6 separate regions of the Homo sapiens genome follow, and regions 2, 3, 4, 5 and 6 are each linked to region 1. The links are contacts of gene promoters, found by promoter capture Hi-C in blood cells and fetal thymus (Javierre and others, 2016). All regions are on one chromosome and are shown on one strand. The core of a region is centred on a gene start or on the middle of the fragment in contact, and the rest is flanking DNA. Distances in the headings are between cores, read along the strand shown. Region 1 holds the start of TIPRL (TOR signaling pathway regulator). Region 2 has its middle 5.7 kb from the start of SCYL3. Region 3 holds the start of SLC19A2 (solute carrier family 19 member 2). Region 4 overlaps NME7 (NME/NM23 family member 7). Region 5 overlaps TADA1 (transcriptional adaptor 1). Region 6 overlaps BLZF1 (basic leucine zipper nuclear factor 1).

Evidence for each region. Contacts are between HindIII fragments. The CHiCAGO score rates a contact against its expected background, and 5 or more counts as called.
Region 2: a contact is called between a fragment that was not itself captured here and the fragment with the promoter of TIPRL in region 1, in 1 of 17 cell types (activated CD4 T cells). The highest score is 6.5, in activated CD4 T cells.
Region 3: a contact is called between the fragment with the promoter of SLC19A2 here and the fragment with the promoter of TIPRL in region 1, in 2 of 17 cell types (total CD8 T cells and naive CD8 T cells). The highest score is 5.4, in total CD8 T cells.
Region 4: a contact is called between a fragment that was not itself captured here and the fragment with the promoter of TIPRL in region 1, in 4 of 17 cell types (total CD8 T cells, naive CD8 T cells, activated CD4 T cells and 1 more). The highest score is 9.3, in total CD8 T cells.
Region 5: a contact is called between a fragment that was not itself captured here and the fragment with the promoter of TIPRL in region 1, in 1 of 17 cell types (naive B cells). The highest score is 5.0, in naive B cells.
Region 6: a contact is called between a fragment that was not itself captured here and the fragment with the promoter of TIPRL in region 1, in 3 of 17 cell types (total CD8 T cells, neutrophils and non-activated CD4 T cells). The highest score is 7.2, in total CD8 T cells.

What each region holds. Positions count from the first base shown.
Region 1 is chr1:168,177,311-168,180,846 of GRCh38, forward strand. It overlaps TIPRL (TOR signaling pathway regulator), which reads left to right and starts at 1,652. Exons shown (of 7, transcript NM_152902.5): 1 at 1,652-1,871. The coding sequence starts at 1,768. RefSeq lists enhancers at 1,275-1,776, 1,764-1,883. The HindIII fragment of the contact is 4,299 bases long and covers 703-3,536 here.
Region 2 is chr1:169,898,008-169,901,212 of GRCh38, forward strand. No RefSeq gene overlaps it. Among named protein-coding and RNA genes, the nearest start is that of SCYL3, 5.7 kb to the left of the region's middle. The HindIII fragment of the contact is 5,358 bases long and covers 1-3,205 here.
Region 3 is chr1:169,483,847-169,487,287 of GRCh38, forward strand. SLC19A2 (solute carrier family 19 member 2) reads right to left here and starts at 2,098. Exons shown (of 6, transcript NM_006996.3): 1 at 1,717-2,098. The coding sequence starts at 1,920. RefSeq lists enhancers at 1,503-1,562, 2,105-2,399, 2,203-2,452, 2,235-3,155, 2,463-2,532 and a silencer at 1,743-1,922. The HindIII fragment of the contact is 10,248 bases long and covers 1-3,441 here.
Region 4 is chr1:169,359,151-169,362,290 of GRCh38, forward strand. The region is part of intron 1 of NME7 (NME/NM23 family member 7); the gene reads right to left. Among named protein-coding and RNA genes, the nearest start is that of NME7, 7.1 kb to the right of the region's middle. The HindIII fragment of the contact is 1,185 bases long and covers 1,175-2,359 here.
Region 5 is chr1:166,866,883-166,870,029 of GRCh38, forward strand. It overlaps TADA1 (transcriptional adaptor 1), which reads right to left. Exons shown (of 8, transcript NM_053053.4): 2 at 2,881-2,972; 3 at 2,563-2,628. It also overlaps the pseudogene DUTP6. Among named protein-coding and RNA genes, the nearest start is that of TADA1, 7.8 kb to the right of the region's middle. The HindIII fragment of the contact is 801 bases long and covers 1,470-2,270 here.
Region 6 is chr1:169,375,307-169,378,518 of GRCh38, forward strand. It overlaps BLZF1 (basic leucine zipper nuclear factor 1), which reads left to right. Exons shown (of 7, transcript NM_001320973.2): 3 at 1,234-1,673; 4 at 3,024-3,212. Among named protein-coding and RNA genes, the nearest start is that of BLZF1, 8.7 kb to the left of the region's middle. The HindIII fragment of the contact is 3,684 bases long and covers 1-3,212 here.

The DNA of each region.
Region 1 (3,536 bases), core at 402-2,901:
CCAACCTGACTGGTGTAGAATCACATGACAGATAGCAGACTCCCTTTTCTTAAGCATTCCTTTCTACTGACTTCAAGTCTTTAGACAAAGCTTAACACTGTTTTTTGTTTGTTTGTTTGTTTGTTTTTGAGACAAGGTCTTACTCTGTCACCCAGGCTGGAGTGCAGTGGCACGATCTCGGCTCACTGCAACCTCTGCCTCTCAGGTTCAAGTGATTCTCCCACCTCAGCCTCCCTAGTAGCTGGGGTTACAGGCATCCACCACCGTGCTTGGCTAAGTTTTGTATTTTTAGTAGACACAGGTTTTCACAATATTGGCCAGGCTGGTCTTGAACTCCCGACCTCAGGTGGTCCACCCACCTTGGCCTCCCAAAGTGCTGGGATTACAGTCTTGAGCCACTGCACCTGGCCTGTGTTTTTATTTGTTTTTGAGACAGGGTCTCGCTCACCCAGGCATGAGTGCTGTGGCATGATCATGGCTCAATGCAGCCTCTGAGGCTCAAGAGATCCTCCCACCACAGCCTCTCAAGTGGCCTGGGACTACAGGCAGATACCATCATACACAGCTAATTAACACGGTTTGTAGAGATGAGGGCTTACTCTGGTGCCCACGCTGGTCTCAAATTCCTGGACTCAAGCAATCCTCTCACCTAGGCCTCCCAAGATGCTGGGATTATAGGCAGGAGCCACCTCGCCTGACTAAAGCTTAAATCTTTCAACAGATTGCCGATCAGAAAATCTTTGAATCCACCTATGATCTGTAAGCCTCTCCTTCAAGACATCCCACTTCCTTAGCCTGAACCAATGTATATCTTCCATATATTGACTTATTTTACCTGCAATTCCCAACTCCCTAAAATGTATAAAACAAAGAGTAATGCCACCGCTTCAGATGCTCTTTGTTAGGACCTCTTGGGACTATTCCCTGGGCCATGGTCACTCATATTGGTTCAGAATAAATCTCTTTAAAACCTTTTACAGAATTTGTTTTTTTTCCATTAACAAAATCATCTCATTTTGAGGCAACTGAAGCCTAAAATCGTTAGAGAAGCGCTTTGCCCAAGGATTCACACAATAGTGTTGCAAATGGAGATTTAGCACTAAGTCAGCTGTGTTGTTTTCACTATACTGGGTGCCTACATAGCAACTAGACCATGGAAAGTCTTCGCATATCTACGAGGATGCAATTTTTGATAGGAGTTGGTCATAGTCAAGAGTGGCTAGATGGCCACTTCTAAATCTTGTTGGTGCTGGATTTCCTAAACTCTGTGGGATTACTTCTTTTTTTGACCTCAAAACAGAAAAATTTCCTCTGTAACACGATTCACTAACACATGAGGTAATCACACTGCTTTGAGGTCTGTAAGGATCAAGTTGGAACCGTCATCCCCTTCCCTGGCAGTCCCTAAAATCCTTCGAGATGACGTCACCCAACGAGTTCAAGAGGGCGGTGCGTTCCTAACCACACCTTCTGCAACCCAAGTGCCGCCCCTCTGACTTTCTCCTTTTTCCTTTTTTCCGGAACGCCGGAACGTAAGACGTGGGTCACGCAACAAGAGCAACTAGTCCCGGAAGCAAAAAGCAAAGAGGCGGAGAAGAAGACGGGAAGCAGAGCCCGCGTCCGGGTCGGCCGGCAGGGGGCGGGGCCGGGCATGGTAACGGCTCGGAAGCCTAGGAGGCTGGGCCGGAGGGAGGCGGAGGAACCGGTGTTCGCCGCCGCCGCTGCTTCAGCTTATTCCTTGTGGCCTCTGCGGGTCCTGCCTCAGCCATGATGATCCACGGCTTCCAGAGCAGCCACCGGGATTTCTGCTTCGGGCCCTGGAAGCTGACGGCGTCCAAGACCCACATCATGAAGTCGGCGGATGTGGAGAAGTGAGGCTTCGGGGCACGGGGTCTGGGCGCTGGCCGGTTGCTGGCCCAGGGCGGGAGGCAGGGCGAACTCTGTGCAGCCCCTCCCCTTTTCCCTGAGGCGGAGGTTCGGTCCCTCCGGACCGGACCTTTGATTGACAACTTCGATAAATAATCCAGTCACACTTCCGGGCCCTTTGGTTGGGGATCGCCAGGCGCTGCTTTCGTCAACTGTCAATCCGCCTGGGTTTGAGTAGAGTGTGACTGTTCTGGTGGACTTTCCCCTCACCAAACGTCTCCTCCTGCCTCAGCCTGCACCACCTTTCTTTCTGGGTGGCTGTTGCCTGTTTTCTTAGGGGTTAATGACGGGGATGATTTATAAGTTTGGTTTCTGTCACGTCAGGTGCTGTGCCCGGCGCTTGAGATAGGAAATGTAAAAGACAACGTGCGCCTCAATTCACAGTCTCGTGAGAGAGACAGACAATTATATTACAGCGTGAATAAATGTAATGAAGATGTATACACGGAGTGATGTGAGGTCTTTTAGGGGCTCGAACCATCTGGGAAATTGGGATGCCTGAACTGAATCTTTATAAAACCGTTGCGGGGGGCGGTGGATAGGTACATGCCATCAGGTCAGGCAGAGTGAGTTGTGATGCGTTTTTGATGCCTGGGCTGAATCTTGACAAAATTTAGGGGAATCAGGGGACGCATGTAAAGCTGGGGGCTCAGGGAGAGTGAAAGCTGTGATGTGTTTAAAGAGCTGTGTCCGTGTGATTGGAGCGTGAGGTACCATAGGGGGTGTTGTGAGAGATGAGAGGTAGGCCCCAGGGGAATCAAGATACTGAGGGAATTTTTATGCCTGGCTAAGGAGTTTTCAATTTTATCTGACAACCACTGGGTGTAATTTTATCCAAAGGAGCTGCATTATCAGATGTACGCTCTGAAAGATTTCTCTGGAGGCCATGTTGAGGCTGGATTGCAGGTCCGCAGGGATGGGAAGGAGACCAGTTAGTAAGAGAAAAGATAGGTTTTAGAAGATTAAGTCCCTGGGATGGCCAGCTGATGGGAGGAGAAATAAAAAAGGAAGAGTCTATGCTGATGACAAGATCTCTGGCTTGGATTTTTGCATGTATCGTATGCCTTTGAACAAGATGAGAAGCACAGGAGGAGGAGAAGCAGATGGGGGCAGGGTGTTGGTTAGAGGATGAGTTTAGTTTATTGAAATGTGAGGTGGGTATAGGTCATAAAGTGAAGATGTGTAGTAGGCATTTAGATATATTTATCTTGGAGCTCAAAAAAGATAACGTCTGTGGGTTTAAGTTTGGGAATTATCTGCTTATATTTGGTACCTGGAGCTTTGGGAATGAATTAAGGTATCTAGAAGTCATCCAGAGGAAAAGGTCATAAAATAGAACCCTAAGTGAGTACTTGCATTTTAAGATTTGAGCAGAGGGAGTGACCAGGGAAGAGAGGAAAGTAATGAAACGATGTTTGCTTCCTAATTCAAGAAAATAAGTGGTAATATTCTAGTAGACTCACTGAAAAAAATTAGGAAAATACAGAAAAGAAAGGAAAAAAATTTCCCTTCATCCCACCAGAAATTGAATTACTTTTTTGAGTTTTTCCTCTCTATATCTTTCTTTTCTTTTTTTTTTATAACTTTTTTTTTTTTTTTGTATTTTTAGT
Region 2 (3,205 bases), core at 147-2,646, 1.7 Mb after region 1:
TGAAAACACTGTCTAAAACAGCACCTTACCTGCCTCTTCCTGTCTTTTGACTTTGCCTTATTTTGCTTAACACCAATGCACATATTTGTTCAGCATCTCTGTCCCACAGCTAGAACATCAGCTCCCTGAAAACAGGGCTTCCTTCCTTCATTTCTTTCTTTCCTGCCATATTTCTAGCACATAACACAGTGCCTAGAACATACTAGGTACTCAGTAAATATTAAACACACAAATGAATTTACTGAGAGCACACTGCATGTCCCAGGCACCCTCCCTACATCTCTCTGCCTCCCAGCCCTTACCCCACAGAGCCCTCTATAGCTCTGGTTCCAGTTCTCAGTTCCCTGGAGCTGCTCTCTGAGCTCCTTCTGCCTTTCTTATGCATAGAAATCTTGTATTCCCTCACTGATTCCTCAGTCCTCATTTTAAATATGTCTAAGGCCAGGAAAGAAAAGAATCTCCAACAACCTGAATCCGCTGTCCTTGGAATGTGGCTGGTGGGACAGTTAGAAACAAATAGTTTGTTTTCTTAATAGAAATAATTTTTTCTTGTCATACTGTTTAAGGATCAACCTGAATTTTACTTCCAACCAATCCTCTTCTTAATTCAAATCAAAACATGTCAATGGTATTCAGCTTGACTTTTAGGTGTTTTTTTAATTAATCTTTTTCATGTTTCTAACTTAGATTCCCAAGTAGACTATAAGTATCTTGGATATATTCCTGGTTCTATAAAAGCCTTAGCCATCCAACTTAATTATTTTTTTCCAACTTGATTTGAACTAACTTTTTTACAAGCTCTACCTGAAAACCAAAGAGAGTAAAAGTTATTCAAGTGATTTCTATTTAATGTTCTACCTCAATAATTTGTGTAATTGCATAATTGCAATTAGAATCTGGAAGTGTAAAGGGGGAAACTTGCATGAATGACAAACCCTCCTTCAGGCACATTTCAGATAAATACATATAGCATCCATAAGTAGTGGATACCTTATAGAAAACTGAACTGGACCTAAGCCACTTTGTTCTCTCGTTGTTTTTAGGAACTTTGCATAGATATTGGAAGATTTCTCTAATGAGAAGTATGTGTTTTCTAAGTTCCACCATAACCTTGCTACCACTACAAAGAGAGAATGAAAGCAAGTCTGAGGTGGGATTCTACACATTCACACGTTTATTAGCAAGGTTTAAAGACAGGCAGTAGAGCTGTTATACAAACTCAGTGAGGTTCCACTTCCTTGTGTAGGAGCTTGAATAGCATCTTGCATGAAAGGTCCATCCACTGCAGGAAGATGGGACAGTATTCTAATAGCAGACTCAGCTATCCTCATTAGAGCTGGGTGACAAAATCTTCTTGTAATCTTCTCCATATGGGGCTGGTCTGAAATCCTAAATCTAGGGCACCTTTCCAAAGTGTGTAGATTGCTAGACTCACTAGATTCTCATACTCTGATCATGTAAGGCATGGCAACATTTCTATTCATTCTGTCCATCTTGAAATTACTTATTTTGGCCATGAAAATTCACTTTTAAACATCCTTAAAGCCACTAGTATTGATCTGAGTTAGAGATAGCTGAAGTGTTTGTAGTATCTGCCCCAGGAGTATAGACTTCTCATTGAAATCTTTCAGATGCTAAAAGCCTCTGAAGTGTGAATTGCTTCTCAACTTCAAAGAGCCATGAATCATCTTGGAATCATACTCCTGGGAGAAAGATTTGGGGCAAACAATGTGTGCATTATATATCTACCTCTTCTTTGAAATACTTCAGCCTTCAGGGAGATACAGATGTGTACTAACTTAGATCTATCCTGTAGGGGTGGTTAATTAATATTTGAAGGCAACATGAGCATCCTCTGGAAGCATGTTAAAAATGCAAAAGCTGAGGCCTCACGCTAGATTGTCGAGTCAGAATCTACATTTTAACAGGATCTTTAGGTGATTTGCAGGCACCTTCCTTGCAGGAAGGTTTGAGAACTGCCCTAAATGATCTAAGGCCTCCCTCCTTTGGCCTCACTGCTATCCTCCTGCTCACTAACTCTGGTCCATGCTCAGTGGCCTCCTTGCTGTCCTGTCAGCATGCCAGGTGAGCTCTTGCCTTAGGACTTTTGCTCTAGCGCTTCCTTTTCCTGTCATTCTCTTTTCCCACATGTCCATTTGACTAAGTCTGTTACTTCTATTTTTTGTTCAGATCTCGTCTTCTCAATGAAGTCTGTCCTGATCCACCCTATCTAATTCTACAACGTTTACCTTCCTTCCTGCTACACTCCTGGTGCTTCCTATCCTGTTTTCTTTTGCTTTTTCCCTCCATAGCACTGACCGTCTTATAAACAGCCATATACTGTATTTTCTAGATTGTAAAAACTATAGTTTTTCACATTTTAACATCCCTGAAGGTCAGAATGCATTTTACCACAAATGGCATAATATAATTTGTCAATAATTTTTTCTTAGTGGTACCAAATATATTGATGCTTCCTAAATGTGATGGCATCATATATTTGATGAAATATGACAATTTGCTTATGTATTATGGCTTTTGGTTTTGAGAGAAAACAATTATCTGAAACTTTAAAATAGGCAAAAGAGGTTACTGTGGCTTTCTTCCCATGCAATTCTGGATTAAATTCCTATTGACTAGGTTATTTTACTACTTCTTTATTACCTTTTTAGGGGCAGAGGCTAACTTTTTCATTTTCATCCACTAGAGATGTAAATAAGTTTGTCCAGCACAGCAAATCATCTTAATGGTTACAGTTTATTGTCCTGTAAGTTATTAACCCAGCAACCTGAACCTGACATGTCTTTATCAAATTGCCTACATATACACCTATCTTCTCAGCTGCTATTTGGACTAGTTTAAAATCTTACTGATTCCCTCATTAATAAAAACATTAAATAGAGTCTTTGACATGTGTTCATTTTATATTTGCCTGAGAAACCTCATTGTACTTTTTTAAAAAAATTACATTTTAATGGTTTATTTCTCCCCTGCTAGAATGTTAAGTTTCACAAGGGAAAAAAATCTGTTTTTGTTCAATGATCTGCCATAAATGCTTAGAACAATGCTTGGAACATTATAGATGCTCAACAATTATTTACTGATGAATGAATGAATGGAAGTATAGAAAAATATATACTAGTCTGTTAACATTCACCATGTAAGGTAGGGAGAGGTTACTTTCTTTATATACCTTTTTATATAT
Region 3 (3,441 bases), core at 848-3,347, 1.3 Mb after region 1:
AGCAGTATCAATTCTGCCTCAGTGGCTACACCTCAGATTCAGTGGTTGTTTTGGGTCTCCAGAATCATACTTTCTCATATCAGTGCAGTAATTTTCTTGTAAAATCATTCTGTCATGAAATTTGGCTGTTTTGACATTATTGCTTTAAATCAGTATTAAAACTCAAATAGGTTATGAATAACTGTTACGGTCGCTTATGTAATGATCCACAAGACTGAGAAACGGCCCAGCCACTCCATCCCACAACTGGCAGGTCAATAGGGTAATTTAAGGCCAGGCAAAAAGTCAGTGATACTTGCTAGAAGTGAACAAATGTCAGACTCTCAAGTGAAACCCTCAATACGTAAGTCAATACTGATTCTTAATTCTCTCTCAAGTGCCCTTGAAAATGACGGAGCATTGCAACAAACAAACTGCAAACAACAAACTATGAGTAACTATATCTCGCCAGTGTGCAAATGATTCCGGTAGTGCCATCTCTTGTTCTGACCTGTTATGCAGGGTTACTGAGTGGCTACTCAAAAGAAGTGACTGACTACTACCCACATAGAGAAGAGTAAGGTTTAAATGGGAGGAGTATTTTACAGCACCTGGGGCAAGGAGGCAGGGTGGAAGGAACAGGTGTAGGAAAAAAGAAAAAGCTCTCAAGTGGCCCCTTGACTGATAGTAGGAAAAAGAACATGAGACCTCAGCTTTCACCCTTTGTTGTATTCAAGGAAGAGGGTGTTGAATCGGCTTTATTTCGGTTTTGTGGAAGTACTTTGGGTTTAATTTCTTTCTCAGTTTATATATTGTCTTTCTTCTGCAAAAATCAAGTGCTGGTTTTGACCATGCACTTAAATAGGTCAGCACATTTCTAAAGTACACTATGCGCTTCTGAAGTACTTTATTTGTAAGCCCTCATCTAGGGAAAAAATCAATCAGCAAGAAACTCTTGATGATGGACTACGTGCTCTCAATTACCCTGAACATCACAGAAGGCCTTCAAAGACATCACCTTGTATCTGAGAAGCAAAACTAACATCTGTGAAGCAACAATTCGCAATACAAGAAACACTATAATTAAAAGTCAATTATGTTTCACCATCTGCCTTTATCCCTGGAGGTTGGTCTTAAGGTAGAGAGGGGCAGGATATCCTTGGACACAACCTCACCCAATTAAAAATCAAGACAAATTAAGATGTTCTGTACTTCTGTCCTGTCCTTACTTGATTAAGCCCACCCATTCTGCCAAATGCAAACAAAGTAAGGTATGGACAGGAAGCAGGTGAAGGAGGTAGAGGGAAGATCCTTTCAGAAAAGCAGTGGTTGCCTACTTTCAGTCAATGAATATTTACTAAGCCGTGTCCAAAGTACACTTTGCTGTTTTCACTTCTTTGTCAAAATATTGCCCCCTCGCCCCCAGCAGGAACTGCTGGACCAGTCTGGGCAGTCACGCTAAGCCACATTACAACACGATCAGCATACTGCCTGACGCACAAGGCACGGGGCCTCTGGACGCGTGTTCTGAGCCCTTCGCAGGAGACTCGTCCTACAGAGCCGAAGAAAACAGAAAATCATGAACACAAAGAAGAGCACGAAGCCGACCTCCAACTGGCAAAATCAGAAATCTCTGCCGAGAATGGCTCGAGCGCTTTTCTCGGTCCTCTCTTCCTCCGCTGCCCACCCGCAGGCCGGTCGCCCGCCCTTCCCGCGCCCCGCGTCCGCCGCGCGTACCTCCCTCTCGGTCAGGTTCTTGTCCGGCCCCAGCAGGTACGGGGTCAGGAAGGGCTCGGACGGCCTGAGGCTGGCGAAGAAGCCGTAGGCGCAGAGCAGCGCGGTCGGCAAGAACCAGCATTCGCGACGGACCCGAGCGGTCCGCAGGAGCACAGTGGCCGCCGCCGCCGCCGCCCGCCGAGACACCGGGCCGGGCACATCCATCCGGGGCGCGAGGGGAGGGGACCCGGCCCGGCCCCTTCCTTCTCCTCCTCCGCCAACTGGAGTGAGGGTCAGGCACTTGTAACCGCGAGTGACGCCTTCTCCCTGTAAGGCCAGGACGTTCTGGACTCGCCGCCGCCTCCGGCTACAGAACCCCCAGCTTTACCCTACAGACGCCTCTAGGGTCGCTGCCTGATCGCCCAGTTTAAGGGAGACCCGTCCTAAGGCCCACCCTCTGCCACCGCCTCCACTCCGGGAACCAATCACAGCGGACGCCGGGAATACTTGCCTGCTCTTCCATTGGTCGTGGGTCACACGACGTGAACTGGGGCGGTGGCAGCACGCCAGGCCTCTGACGTCCCAGGGCTCAAGCGCGGAGGACATGTGGAACTCCACTCCAAAAGCGGCGGCTTGCGGCGGAGCTCTCTCTAGTGAGGCGGCCAGCTGGCGTTCGTGGCACACTTGCTGTCGGCTCCGCTCATCTGTTGGGAATGCGTCCTGTGGGCCTAGTCCTCCGCTGGAAGAAACGCGCTGTTCTCCCCAACCACCGTTTATCATTCTTATTCACCGTCTCCGGAATGTCCATTCAGTTTCCGCTCCTGAGAGACTTAGTGACTGAGGCCAGGCAAAGATTTCACCTTGGGGAGGGGGAACGTTAAACCTTTCCTCCAGCAGCTTTCGTGTTTTAAATTGTATTCATCCGCCATGGAAAGACATCAGAAGCCCAGGATCTAAGAGACAGACTGAAATGAAGAAAGTAGATAATATTGTGAGAATAATGAACAAGCTGGTCACTGAACAGCAGAACCGTAATGGAGTCCCAGTTAAAGGGTTTTAACTTTATTTCGTCACTTTTTGCAAGCATGATACAAAGAAAACAAACACCTAACTACGCTACGGTTTATAGTTAAAAGGAAGGTGGAAGATCCTGAGTCATTACAGCAATCACAAAACATGATGGATTTCTTCATTTAAAAACACAAAAGAGGTCTTGGCATAGTTTTCAAGGGCAAAGCATGACAAGACTCTCCAGTGCTTTCTTTCATCCCCCTCTGTGTGCCTTTTTCTGCCTGACTCACAGCCTGGCTCAATCCTAATCTTTCTACTGCAAAGATGCAGCATTTAAAGCAATTTTTCCTGTGCAGTATTTGTAGAATGACAGATCCTGCCAGAAGCTCTTGGAAACATTTTGGAACTATCTTGCTTTTCTGTATGTTATGATCCATCTAGCACCGTTTTCCTCCTGTGGTAGCAAATGACACTTTTTTCAAGCATCAGCAGCAGAAATGAGTCTACCAGATGGAATAAGATACTGGTAAAGGGAAAGATTTGTTTCTAAGACTGCACAAATGAATGCACCCAAATCTGTGAGTTGATTAATCTGTGAAGAAATACAACTGGCAGTATTTACATATCTCAATGAGTCTCAAAGTGTGGTCGAGGAAGCCCTGGGGGTCCTTGGGACCCTTTCAGAGGTTCCACGAGCTCAAATCTATTTTCATAACCATGCTAAGTCTTTATTTC
Region 4 (3,140 bases), core at 517-3,016, 1.2 Mb after region 1:
CCTATGCATATCCTCCAGTATATTTTAATTCATCTCTAAATTACTTACAACACGTAATACAATGCAAATGCTATGTAAATACTTGTTATAGTGCTTTGTTTTTATTTGTATTTTTTATCATTGTATTGTTATTTTTTTTTTTCAAATATTTTCAATCCTCAATTGGTTGAATCTGGATGCAGAACCCATGGCTACCCAGGGCTGGCTGTAGTTCTTAAAACTGATCTGGAAAAATGCAAAAGATATATTAAGTGGGATAAAACAGATTTCTAAACAATGAATATAATAGAATCATATTTTAAAGGATATGTATCTCTGTGTGTGTGTGTATATATGTATGAGTATATATGTGACCAGGATATTACACAAAAATATTAATAGCGATTGTATACAGGCAGTGTTATTATAGATAAATGTAATTTTATTACTTTTACTTTTATATTTTCTCATTTCTAAAAATGACTAAGTAATTTTCCTATATTTCTACAACAGAATAAGTTAAATATCTTTATAAACATATATAAAACATATATAGCATATATATGTATCATGTAAATATTGAAACTATGGAAAACAAAGGATAAAAGTTGAATTTACATCTATCAGAGAGCTCTAGAGCCATTATGTGTGCATATGAAGATACATTTTAAAGAGTATAGAAATATGAAGAAGGCACAGCACATAAGATGAGTCAGGAGAGAGAACAACAGCAACTTATTAAGGCAAAGTGTCCAGTATCAGAAAATAAATGTGAATTAAGCAGTACATTTTAATAGCTACAGTTTCTCACATCTAATTAACAGAAAGTTTTAAATATTGACAACTTTGGAAGTGAAGAAGTTTAGGCAGTTTTTGAAAAAAATGTGAATACAAAGTTCATTGGGAATGCTGGAGATACTTCTGGAAAGTAAGATACTTCAATCATATGCTATAGCAGCATCAAGAAAGGTACTAGGTGAAGATCACAGCAGCAAACATAACTCCCATGTTGAAACTATAATGCATACCCATCTGGAATATGTAGCTCTGCTCGCCACACCTTAGAGTAGATATTATAGAAACAAAAAATAAGTCCAGAAATGGGAAAATAAATTATGAAATGGCAACTATAAGGGATGAAATTAGGAGTCTCTGAAGTTCAAAGACAAAAGAAGCTCAGAAAAATATTTCCCAAAGCTTATAAGATCATAAATTTTACAGATAAGATAAAAATAAGCACCAAGAGACCAAATTAATATGGCAAAAGTTTAAGGCAAATCCAAGGAAAATAAAATATTTTGATGGAATAGGTAAAATATATAAGATGTATAATACTACTGCATTTAGAATAAAATCCAAAATCCCTCCCAAGTTCCATAAGTCTCAGTATTCCTGGCTCCTTCCTGCCTCTCAGATCTCTTCTCCTCCAGCTGTCCTCTCATTCCCTAGGCCCCAGCCACACTATCTCCCTCCTGTTCCTCTAATGCACCTCTGTGCTCACTATTGACTCTGCCTGGAATGCTCTTCTCCTAGGTTTCACCTGGCAAGCTGCTTTCTATCATTGACATCTCAGCTTAAAAGTCACATCCTCATGAGGACCGTCCCTGATTGTCCTACTCAAGGCTACTTGCTCTTGGAACCAACCAATATTGCATTACTTAGTTTAATTTTCCTCATAGTACTTATCATCATATGAGGTCATCATTCGTTTATTTATTCATGTAAACTGTTTTTCTCTCAAACTAAGGAAAAAAACAATTAAAGAGTTTTATCATCAAAGAGACTTTCCCTCACCACCCCAGGCTAGTTCAGATCACTCTATTTTATTACTAACTTCCACCTCACCTTGTCATTTTTCTTTTGTAATCCAACTTATACTTGTAATTTATTTTCCAATATCTGTTTTTCTCCATAAATTCCATGAGTTAGGGGCCACTGTGTGCTATCTTATTAATCAATGTATACCCACCAGTTACCAGTATATGGAAAGTACTCAATAAATACTTTCTCGAATAGAAGAATAACTGGTGAATGAGAAAGAATTGGGAATAAAAAGGCAGAAAAAGGAAAGCAAAAATAAATAAAAAGCTACATGAAAAAAATTATGGCATTATATTAACCACTTACTATTCCGTTCTCCAAATACCACTGTTTCCTACTAAACAAGAATATAACAGGCTCTAAACTGCATTTGTAATACAATATATAGGAAAATAAACTTTTAAGAGTTTCATATCTGCAATTTATGCCCTGTGCTTTCTGATTCACTTTTTGTAAATAAAATCCTGTGGATCTTTGGAACTGCAATTCTTCCAAATCAGCAATTCAAGTAACAAAAGGAATTCTGGATGACTAAAAAGCAGATGCTGTCTGGGTGCCAAGCTTCATGCCTATAATCCCAGCAGTTTGGAAGGCCGAGGCAGGCGGATGACCTGAGATCAGGAGTTTGAGACTAGCCTGGCCAAAATGGCGAAACCCCGTCTCTACTAAAAATACAAAAGTTAGCCAGGCGTGGTGGCATGCGCCAGTAGTCCCAGCTACTCGGGAGGCTGGGGCACAAGAATTGCTTGAACCCAGGAGGCAGAGGTTGCAGTGAGTGGAAATCGCGCCACTGCACTCCACAGCCGGGTCGACAGAACAAAACTCTGTCTAAAAAAAAAAAAAGGCAGGTGCTAAAAACAAAACCAGAAAAGCTATTAGGAGAAACGTCATAAAGTTGGAAACTGAAAAGCATTTCATTTCATGGAATAAAATTTTGTTCTTCAGTAATTATGAAACTGTCTTTGAAAACTCTGTTAAAAACAACTTTGACTCATGCCTGTAATCCCAGCACTTGGGGAAGCCGAGGCAAGTGGATCACTTGAGGTCAGGAGCTCGAGACCAGCCTGGCCAACATGGTGAAACCCTGTCTCCACTAAAAACACAAAAATTAGCCAGGCATGGTGGCACATGCCTGTAATCCAAGTTACTCACAAGGTGGAGGCAGGAGAATCGCTTGAACCCAGGAGGCAGAGGTTGCAGTGACCCGAGATCACACCACTGCACTCCAGCCAGGGTGATAGAGTGAGACTGTGTCTCAAAAATAAATAAATACATAAACAAACAAACAACTTTGAGACATTTTACTTCAAAGGTTTAGATTAGTTCTTATGGAACATAGC
Region 5 (3,147 bases), core at 620-3,119, 1.3 Mb before region 1:
TACAGGTGCCTACCACCATGCCTGGCTAATTTTTGTACTTTTAGTAGTGACGGGGTTTCACCATGTTGGCCAGGCTGGTCTTGAACTCCTGACTTCAGGTGATCCACCCACCTTGGCCTCCCAAAGCGCTGGGATTACAGACATGAGCCACTGTGTCTGGCTGGCATTTTTTATTTTTAAAATCACTTTTTTATAAGTTCTTTCATCTGTTTTTTCATAATCCTACGGGGTAGATATTGCTGTACTTATTTTATAAATTTGAAAGCCCAAGTAACTATATTATGTAAGCTAGTGGCAAAACCTACACTTGAACCTAAGTCTCTTGACTCTTATCAACCAGGGTTTTTACTTCTGATCACTCCATTTATCTTTGGCATATGTGGCAATTTACAATATGCTTCCCTAAAAAGTAAGATTCACAATATTGGCTTTTCTGATCAAATTAAATTTTATGTAACAAAATAGATTATGATTTAACTTTGGACATAAAAGAGGAATGGCTAAAGTCTACTTGTATATAAATTAAATAGCACATCAAAAATCTGACACAGTGTAAGAATGTGCGGTGATGAGTGTGGTGAGGGGAGGGAGGCAGTCACTGCTCTCTAAAACAACCCCACAAGCAGGTGCTCACAGTTTACTACACATTAACAACGACTTCTTTGAGGGTCAAAGAACGAGGTGTTAGGAGATCTTATGTGAATTTTTTTTTTTTTTTTTTAAACACAGTTTCACTCTGTCGCCCAGGCTGAAGTGCCGTGGCACAATGTAACCTCTACCTCCCAGGTTCAAGCGATTCTCATGCCTCAGCCTCCTGAGTAGCTGGGACTACAGATGTGCGCCACCACGCCCGGCTAATTTTCTTTTTTGTATTATTAGTAGAGTAGGGGTTTCACCATGTTGGCCGGGCTGGTCTCGAACTCCTGACCTCAAGTGACCCGCCCGCCTCAGCCTCCCAAAGTGCTGGGAATACAGGCGTGAGCCACCACGCCCTGGCTTGAGTTCTTTATCATACAGTAGAAGTAAACAGAGAGAGAGGATTAAAAAATACCAGCCATTTATAGATAAAACATGAGCTTTCGATATATGATCATCAGAATCACCCTAAGCCCTTAAAAAAATTTCAATTTAATCTACAACAGGAGTTGGTAAGCACAATTGTAATGGTAACTTTTGTAGTCTTATGAATAGATATAAATTGCAATTTAGAAATATAAAAACTACTGAATAAATCATTTGGCCTAATTTTTTTTAAAAAGTCCAGTATGACTTTTATCATGAGGAAAGTTTTCAATGTATTTAATTACTTGTTTTTGACTGATTAAAATAAGATGGTTGAGAGAGGTGACTTACAGCTTAATCTTCTCTTCAGGTTAAAGTGACAGGTTTCGTTTCCACCTACCCCCTCAACATGCTACTATCCCCTACCTCTTGTTATCTACCAATAATCTGTGAAACACAGGTGCTGAAGCTTGACCTTTCAGGTGCTATCTTACCTAAGAACATAGTGGAAGTCCAGGTTCCCAACATATGCTGGGTTCCCCCACCTCCCCACTACGGACACCTTTCAAGTTAGGTATCCCTTAGGTACAGGACACCTAACACCAACTGCCCTCTCTTCATCTCCCTTACCTTCTTCATCCTGATCTCCCACCCTCTTCCTCACTTCTCATTTACTTAAGTAATCTAAAATGTAGCTGAGTGGGGACTCAATATCAAAAGGTAATATAAGTACAGGGACATAACCTGCTTTACAAGGCTCCGTAGATTTGGGCAGTCCCTGCTGTGGTGCTCACCCTGCGCCCTCTTGTTCCCGGGCTATCTCCTTGCTTGCCTTCTGGCTCTCTCAAGCCCTATTCTGAGGGACACCACTATTTCCCCCATTGAGCAAACTGGCCTGCGGGGGAGGGTGGCACACAGAGCAGCCTTGCCCAGCTCTCCCAGCATAACACGCCCGGACCAAGGGGTCCACGGGGGCTAGGACTTGGACATGCCTAGGATTACACAATACCACCTAGGGAGAAAGCACTTGTGAAAACAAACATTCAGACAGTCCTTCCTTCTGGGTGTTAGAAAAGAGTAGTGCCACATCTGGCTTGGCTGAAAAACACTTTACTGATGTAGGAGCTGGCATCATAAGATGAAGATTATAGAGGAAGTGTTGGTGTTGTACAATTCAATTTTGGCAAAGAAAAGTTTGGTGTCAAAAATGGTGATCAAATTGCATAGCTCATTTGTGAACAGACTTTTTCTCCAGAAACAGAAATTCAAGCTTTGGATGACACTGAAAGGGGTTCAGGAGGTTTGGGTTCCACTGGAAAGAATTAAAATGTATGCCAAGAACTGAAAATGAGAAATCATACCTTTTTCTTAAAAATAAAGAGTTTCTGCTTTAAAAAAAAAAAAAGATTCTGTAAAAGAATTTGTATCTACCTAATAAAACTTTTCTTCTGAGTAGTTCAAAAACATCTGCTTTACAAACACTAGCTGTGTCTATTAGAGAAAGCTAAAGTCTAGTGCTTTGCTGACTTACACACACTGGAAGTATTTCCACTCCCTTACCTGGTGTAGAAACCAAAATCTGACAACGCGTGAGAATGGCCAGGAGGAAATCATTGTGAGAATGGACTGAAAAAGGAAAGATAGTGACAATCAAATTCAAAACATTTTCAACATAAGGAAACCACAACTTTGGTCTAGCTTCTCAAGATTTTGGATATCCCCTATTCTGCCATGCTTTATACTTAAAGTATCCACATTATTAAGATAACCTTATACACCACAAAACCAAAATTTTACTTTTTAAAAAGGGAAAAGACTTTACTACAAATCTAGGAAAACTACAGAATAGTAAAATAACTCTGCAGATAATTATTTTACCATTATCCTGTGTGAGAAGTCTATGAGCTTCAAGGTCAAACTCCTCTTTGCTGATCTTCTGCTTGAACCACAGCTTTAGGTTAGCCCAGTATCTGCAGAGGCAGAAACAATACTAAGAACCACAGATTTGGCTGCTTCTAGTTTTTTTTGTTTGTTTTGTTTTTTTAAAGAGACGGGGTTTTTTATTCTGTCACTCAGGCTGGAGTGCAGGGGAACAATCAGAGCTCTGAACTTCTGGCTTTAAGCTACCCTCCCACCTCAGCCCCC
Region 6 (3,212 bases), core at 534-3,033, 1.2 Mb after region 1:
TTAGGAGATTACATTACACACACACATATATATATAAAACATATATATAAAAAACATATATACATATAAAACATATATATATAAAACATATATATATATATATATATATATATATATATATATATGGTCTGGCTGGACAGTGATGAATTCACTGAAGACCAATCAGTAGTTCATGATTGTCCTTAATGTTTCTATAGACATAAAATTTCTATTGAAATATTTTTATACCACTTACCTGCACACTTATTATATATTATCCTGTAATACATTTTATCTTTTTATATGTATGTTCTGTCCCCTAAATTAGGTAGTAAATTTCTTAAGCATAGTGGTCTTACCTCATAGAATGTCTAGCCTTCATTAGGTACCCAGCATCATGTTTGCTGCCCGTGACCACTCAGAGTTCATCATTATAACCATTGTTACTGATCTGTGTGCTCGTCTTTTGTCCCTCCCCTTGTTATCATTCATTTATTGTTTATAACATATATACATATATATATATATACACACACACTACATGCAAGGCATTTTATTGGGAATACAGTGCACTCAAAATAAATTGAAAGCCACTAGAGGGAATGAGAGAACAATAAAAGAATTTGGGTATGATATGGTGAAAGTGAGGTATAAGGATGTTTAATCTGACAATCCAGTGTAGTTTCACTTGTGTAAGCAGGACATAAACTGTTAGGCCTAAGAATAGGATTGAATCTTTTCTTAATAAATTTTTCGGTGTAACATATATGTTGCTTCCTCTTACTCCAAGAGTTCACAAAACAGATGAATCTCTTATGATGTAGATGGTTTCAAATATGCATCTATATAGCTGACATTTATTTTAACTAACATTATTGAGTGTCTACAGTATGCCAAGCATTTCATCTTATTACATTTTTTCTTACCAAAATTCTATAGCAAAGTTGTTATGATCTCCGTTTTGCAAATTAGGAAATAGAGATTCATGGAAGATTAAATTATTTACCCAGGGTTATACTAGAAAGTAAAAGTCAGAACCAAATATTCTGATTCCAAATCTCTTGTCTACTGAAGGAAAGTTTAAACATGTATCTTTTGTTGACACATGATTGTTTTGAAAATTACTTTTTCTCTGATTTTTTTTTTGCATTCTTTTTAGTGCCAGTAATTTTGAATATAGGGTATAGCATGTATTAGCATTTTCTTGGCATTTCTTCTTGGTAAGTAGTTTCTGTTTTGTTTCCTTTTTGTTAGTCACCGTTACTTCATCCCCAATCCGAGGAGCAGGAGATGGAATGGAAACTGAGGAACCACCTAAATCTGTTGAAGTTACCTCCGGAGTCCAATCTAGAAAGCATCATAGTCTTCAGAGTCCATGGAAGAAAGCAGTTCCATCAGAGAGCCCAGGAGTTCTTCAGCTAGGGAAAATGCTCACTGAAAAAGCAATGGAAGTTAAAGCTGTAAGAATATTAGTTCCCAAAGCTGCTATAACTCATGATATCCCCAACAAAAATACAAAGGTTAAGTCTCTGGGACATCATAAAGGAGAATTCCTTGGTCAGTCAGAGGGAGTTATAGAACCTAATAAGGAACTCTCAGAGGTAAAGAATGTATTGGAAAAGCTCAAGAATTCTGAAAGAAGGTTACTACAGGACAAAGAAGGTCTTTCAAACCAGCTCCGTGTACAGACAGAGGTAAGAAGAGCCTTAATCGATAAAATGAGTACTACTCTTTACGTCTGGACCTTTTAAACGTGCATGTTAGAAAACTACATTTCTTTATGGGAATGTCATTCATCCTAGCTTGTCAGTTCTCTAAAATGCTTCCTCTTAAATTTCTCATTCTTTCTCAGTTCTCTAGGGATACTTTATATTGGGAACTTATACTCTAAACCTCATTGAAGATGGAGGTGTGAGGTGCTTTGGACAAGACCACCAATAAGTTGTAAAAGTAGGTTACAATTATAAACTGCCAGACCAAAGATTGACCAAGTCAGGCATAGTAATTGACCAGCAGTCCTTGTTTTAAGGATCCGTAAATTCCAAGTAGTTTTGCTTGTGTATACGGGATACTTGGAATAAAGAGAATGGCGATATAACTTACTGTGTCTTCATTGTAAATGAAAAAAATCTGTAGCCCTTAAGTGTGTTGCTTTAATCTTTGCATCTTAGTAAAAATTGCCTTGCCCCTTCCCTTGTTTCTCTATTAGACCATGCATCTTTTGGCTAGATACAAGTCTTCATAAGTGAGACCATGGTTAGTGTTTTTATACAAATATATTTTTAAATAACTAATTTCTCATTACAAAATGTAGTACAAATTTATGTGTAAAAATTTTAGAAAATACAGAAAAACACAATGAAAATAGTGCCACCTGAATCATTTCATCCAGCTATACGTGCATAACCATATACATTGAGTTCATTTAGTGTCACAACCCACTTTTTTCAGTTATTAATGTTCTGCCATGTCACAGAATATTCTATTACAGTGTCATTGTTAATAGTAACAGTGTTCTTCAATAGCTATACCATATACCAATAACTGTTATTGGATATCTTTTAATTTTTTGCTCTTTTCAGTAATGATGTAAAGAACATACTTAGAAACATACTGGATTACTTTGCTTTATTTTTTAAAAGTAAATTCTTAGGATGCAATACACTAACTTATAAATGTTTAATAAAAAACATAAAACATTCTCTGTCATATTTTTTATCAAAATATATTGGTTTTGTTTTAATTTTTTTTCCTTTAAGTGTTGACTAGAAGCAATTTGTTATTTTCATAATTCTTTTTACTCTTACTACAAGAGGCTCAGTTTATTACCACATGGACTGTGGATATAGATGTATGGAGAGAAGTAGAGAGAGATGGTTTGTATATCGTATGGAACTTAAATATTTAATTTTACTTTTTGATAGAAACTTCAAGTCACGGAGGTCCAAAATTACACAGAAACACAGTCTCTTTTTGTTAATTTTGTTACATTAAAGTTAGTGATATTACTTTGAGCTTGTTGTATTGATTACGTTCTCTTCTAGGTAAATCGTGAGTTAAAAAAGTTACTGGTGGCTTCTGTTGGGGATGATCTTCAGTATCACTTTGAACGTCTAGCCCGTGAGAAAAATCAGCTTATTTTAGAAAATGAAGCCCTAGGTCGAAACACAGCTCAGCTTTCTGAACAGTTAGAACGTATGTCAATACAGTGTGATGTATGGCGAAGTAAATTC